Linked DNA regions of Homo sapiens: region 1 is linked to region 2. Evidence: promoter capture Hi-C in human tissues and cell types (Jung and others, 2019). All regions are on one chromosome and are shown on one strand. The core of a region is centred on a gene start or on the middle of the fragment in contact, and the rest is flanking DNA. Distances in the headings are between cores, read along the strand shown.

The links. The method cuts DNA at HindIII sites, captures the fragments that hold promoters and counts their contacts. A contact is called where the count stands out against the background at its distance.
Region 1: a contact is called between a fragment that was not itself captured here and the fragment with the promoter of OR2F2 in region 2, in 1 of the 25 tissues and cell types used here (hippocampus).

The regions. Positions count from the first base shown.
Region 1 is chr7:143,976,650-143,979,349 of GRCh38, forward strand. It overlaps the pseudogene CAPZA1P5. Among named protein-coding and RNA genes, the nearest start is that of OR6B1, 22 kb to the right of the region's middle. The HindIII fragment of the contact is 4,953 bases long and covers 1-2,700 here.
Region 2 is chr7:143,933,783-143,936,482 of GRCh38, forward strand. OR2F2 (olfactory receptor family 2 subfamily F member 2) reads left to right here and starts at 1,451. Exons shown (of 1, transcript NM_001004685.1): 1 at 1,451-2,404. The coding sequence starts at 1,451. The coding sequence ends at 2,404. RefSeq lists an enhancer at 1,800-2,299. The HindIII fragment of the contact is 4,199 bases long and covers 1-2,700 here.

The sequences.
Region 1 (2,700 bases), core at 109-2,608, 43 kb after region 2:
ATTACCTTTTCAAATGTGTAAAAGAGGCTAGTTAATCATATACAACAAAAAGAATCCCTAAATGAGGAAGATGCTGGTGTTTCTCCTCTTTGACCTGTTCCCCATGAGGCTAGAAAGCCAAATGTCACCTTCATGGGCAAGTGGGGATAAGCGTACTCCGGTGCACTGTGACTCTTGGAATAGTCAGTCTCTGAACTGAATGAGATCAAAAGTAGAAACTCAATTAGTCCTCTTGATTCATCTGATTTTTACATTCATTTACTCCTTGGCCTTTAAACCAGGCTTATCCAACCCATGGTCCATGGGCTACATGGATGGCTTTGAATGTGGCCCAACACAAATTCATAAACTTTCATAAAATATTATGAGATCATCTTTGCAATTTTCTTTTTAGCTCATCAGCTATCATCATTGTTAGTGTATTTTATGTGTGGCCCAAGACAATTCTTCTTCCTTTGAGGCCCAGGGAAGCAAAAAGATTGGACACCCTGCTCTAAACAGTGACTATCATTGTGCATGACACAAGGCCATGCTATAGATAGGAGTGGCACAATGGATGCACACCAGATTCACAGATAATCCTTGGTTTCCTACTGACTCCCACTTTCTAGGCATATCACCTCCTTTTCTCACCTGTAAAATATAGACAACAAGCAAAAGTTTGAAATGATGTTGTGATTACACTATATTATATTATGTGAATAGATGTATATTTAGCATAATGACTGGCACAGAGTATGTTCTCAGAAAACAGTAAGTATAAGGTTATCCCAATGTCATATAGAGATCAATGCACTCACAACTTAATTATTCTCCTAATATTCTTTCCACCCCATGAACTTTGGACTTTGCCTAGCCAAGAGTGCTTCAGGAGCTTGCTTGTTTTCTTCCCACCACTTTCCACAAAAATAGTAGACAAATTGAAGAAAATTTTCTGAAACCAAATCCAATCATTCAATGATTTACTGGGCAATTGAGTTGGGTAAGTTATTTGAAACGATTTTACGAAGAAACTGGTTTTGCTTTGACTTTAATGCCTGTCACCTTAAAAAATATCAAATATATTTTTTGTGGGGAAAAAACCCAAATCGACTACATTGTTTCTGAGCAAAAACAACATGGCTTGAAGTATAAATACTCTCCTTTTGCATAGGTTTTTGGAGAAAGGTAGAAAAATACATTTTGTTTGTTCAATGTTTGTTCACTTTTTTTCTTTAAGCCTTTGTTATAGAAGTGTCAAGTATAAACGAATCCAACCTTAACCATAATTTCCACATGGATGCCACCTGTGTGCACGTCATCCCCAATGATAGTATCTGGAAAACTTGCTGCATCACAGTTGCGTTTGAGCTCTTGGTAGGCAGCACTAAAGAAAGGGTATTTGAAGTAAGTCTTGCATACGATGTAGGACAAATCACTGGTATTCCTTTAAAGAGCAGGTCACCATAGAAACATTTCCGAGAAATTCTGCATCCCATTTTGGTATGTTTTAAGTTTTATTTGTGATATACATAGTTGTTTAGTTCATTTGTTTAAATCCTATAACAAAATAGTAAACATAAACAACTAGTACTTCCTTCAGTATTCATACTGTCAGCAATAAGCAATTGGAGAGTGTGTATGTGTGTGTAATATATATAAGTGTGTGTGTGGATAGATAGATAGATAGATAGATAGATAGATAGATAGATAGATAGATAGATAGATGATAGAGAGTTATAATTCCCTTCTAAACCTGAAGATTTGCAGATATCTGCAGCCATCATGATGTTAGGTGGGAAGGAGAAAATGAAGGAAAAAAGCAAACGCTCCCATATGGAGGAAATATAGTTCAAATCTTCAGATTTAAAATAACACCCCCAGAGAAGGTACTTATAATGAATTTTTTAGAAAACTCCATTGCCTGTCAAAATGAACCTAGCAACCCCCCTCAATCTGAACTGTATTCTGAGAACTACAGTGTAGGAAGCCCTAGGTTGGGAACAAAGTAGTAGGAAGAGGAAGAACGGATGGGTCTTACACTTAGTGGTATTATGTAATATAGTCTCTTCAGCTGTTGGTAAATCTCTAAAAAGCATTCGGGTACCACAAGTACATTTACACCAGGATAGATGGACATTGTAAACATCACCAGTGCATATTTGTATCAGGCCTTTCATGACTAGGAAATTTCCTGACTCATATGTCTCTAGAACAAATACTTTTTATGCTAGTATAAAATGGGGCAGAACAAAAAGAAATTGATGTACAAATAGATATAGCACAACAGAAAATTACAAGAAAGGAAACAAAATAATTAACAATGTTATTATTTTTAGTTATGGGGATTAAAATCTGTTAACTCTGAACATTCGAGCAAAATATTGCTCTTAATTATAAATTACCTATTTGTGATATTTTGAATCCTTTTATCTTTTCACACCATGAACAACCTTACACCTTTAAGCATTGTGCATTTTTTTCCCCAGTCTTATAGCTGAGCATTAATTGTCTGATGATTTTGGGATGGATGACTGAAAACTCTCAGTGCAAGGTATTGAATGTGGTGCCTCATGTTAAGTGATCATTTTCACGAATTTTTATTTGACACCCAGTTTCTGAAAGCTCTATGTTTTTAATAAATTCCTTGGTGTCTCGGACCCTATTAAACAAACAATACTAAATCCTGAATATTTTATGAGCAACCATCTGAATATTGCT
Region 2 (2,700 bases), core at 201-2,700:
TGGGCCCTGCTGTCTGGCAAGACCACTGGCTGAGCTCTGTTATCACACAGAGCTACTGACTGCGTACTGCAATGGCTTCTGGTCAGACTAGTCACAGAATTTATTCCCTGGCTGGAAAATTATGCTTTCTGGGATTTGCAGTTGGGCAGGGCTGTAGGCTGAACTCCAAAGTTAGGAGAAGTTGCTGCTTAGAATGATTGAGGCCAGAGGCTACACTCAGAAAAACACAATTGATGGTTGCTTCCCTGTTAAGGTGGAGCTTCCTTGTAGGGTTTCTTCCCTTTAAGATGGGCTTTTGGCTGAATTGAGTTTGACTTCCCAGGTCAAACAGTTCTAGCCCTCATGCTTCTCTGAAAGGCATGTAGATGTCCTTGATGGGGCCTTTTAGCTGAGTAGAGCCATGGATTGACTTCCTGGGTTAAGCAGGTCTACCTCATGTGTGTTTCTGAAATGGGTGGAGGTGTGTATCTCCTTGTCTTGGCAGAGGTCACTGGTGTGGGCTCTGAGACTGGACATGGGGACTAGCTATCTAAGGCCTCAAGCTAGGTTGTACTTCCCACCATGCTTCTGAAGATGACCAGCTTAGCTTTGTAAATGAACTATGAAGTTGACTAGTGTCTCAGATTGGGCACCACAGCTAGCAAGAACACAGAGGTAATGCCATGATCTGTGTGCTGGTCACTAAGACCTCTGCCTCCTTTCTTTGTTTTTACTTGACACCAGGTAGTCTAGCTATGCTGTTACCCCCAGTGTTCTCCATGAGATAAGCCCAGAGTGGGATTTCTGAGAAGCATCTTGGAAAACTAGAGATGCTGAATGACTGCCTCTAGTTTTCCTTTCCTCCTGTAAAAACCATGGGCCCAGGAAAACCCTCTTTGTCTGGTGTTGTGTTGACTTTGGCAGGAGGCAAGGTGGCAGGGTTGAAGTGAAACTATGCTTCTTAGCCTTCTAATTCAATTTTCATTCCACGTACCTTGTGGTTGTCTCATGTTAGTGTCCAAGTAGTGGAGTTTTAAAAGAGATATTCTGGTCTGGGGATAGTTGCTAGTTGAATGTTCTGTGGAGAAGAGTAGAGCCTGGGACTTTCTATTCTTCCTTTTTGCTGACATCATCAGAAAACAAACTCCCTGCCCTGGATACTGAGGTAAGCTAGTAAAGAGGTAAAGCTTCCAAAAATTGCACTGCATTATCTACAGGCTTTAACTGGCTTATTTGAGTCCACATCATGTCCTTATGAAAGCACTACTGTCTCTCTAATGCAAAGTAAATATAGTGTATGTTGGAAACAAGCCTGTCATCTTGGCCTTGTGAATTATCTAAAATATTTGGCCAAGGCTGGAATGTCGTATACAGTATGCATTCCTAAGAAGTTATTCTTATGATTCTTTGATTCAACAGCTTCTGTTTTTTTCTGACTCTTTCTACAGATTAATATTCCTCACATTTTTAAATGGAAATAGATAACCAGACGTGGGTGAGAGAATTTATTCTCCTTGGCTTATCCAGTGACTGGTGCACTCAGATATCCCTGTTTTCCCTGTTCTTGGTCACATACCTCATGACAGTGCTGGGGAACTGTCTCATTGTCCTTCTGATCAGACTGGACAGCCGACTCCACACTCCCATGTATTTCTTTCTCACCAACCTCTCCCTTGTCGATGTCTCCTATGCCACAAGCGTAGTCCCCCAGCTGCTGGCACATTTTCTTGCAGAACATAAAGCCATCCCATTCCAGAGCTGTGCAGCCCAGTTATTTTTCTCCCTGGCCTTGGGTGGGATTGAGTTTGTTCTCCTGGCAGTGATGGCCTATGACCGCCATGTGGCTGTGTCTGACCGCCTGCGATACTCGGCCATCATGCATGGAGGGCTGTGTGCTAGGTTGGCCATCACATCCTGGGTCAGTGGCTCCATCAACTCTCTTGTGCAGACTGCTATCACCTTTCAGCTGCCCATGTGCACTAACAAGTTTATTGATCACATATCCTGTGAACTCCTAGCTGTGGTCAGGCTGGCTTGTGTGGACACCTCCTCCAATGAGGCTGCCATCATGGTGTCTAGCATTGTTCTTCTGATGACACCTTTCTGCCTGGTTCTGTTGTCCTACATCCGGATCATCTCCACCATCCTAAAGATCCAGTCCAGAGAAGGAAGAAAGAAAGCCTTCCACACGTGTGCCTCTCACCTCACGGTGGTTGCCCTGTGCTACGGCACAACGATTTTCACTTACATCCAGCCCCACTCTGGTCCCTCAGTCCTTCAAGAGAAGCTGATCTCTGTCTTCTATGCCATTGTTATGCCTCTGCTGAACCCTGTGATTTATAGTCTAAGGAATAAAGAGGTGAAGGGGGCCTGGCATAAACTATTAGAGAAATTCTCTGGGTTAACATCCAAGCTGGGAACTTGACTCATGAACATTACTTTAAGAAGAAGCTTTGCCTCATTTTTCTCCACCCAGCTCAGATATGGCAGGGATAAACTATGTTGCTCTGGCAACCGGGAAGGAGATGATGTAACATGTACTGGGGATGTTATGTAGGAGGCTGAGTGGTTGAGTTGGATGGGGTGTGGGATGTGGGGATAATTTTATATCCCAGCAGTATGATTAGTGGAGTTAGCTACTGCTGTAACAGAACCTTCCACAATTTCTCAATCTCCACTCTTATGTTCTGATAAAAACTGAAAAAAAGTACTACTTACTGT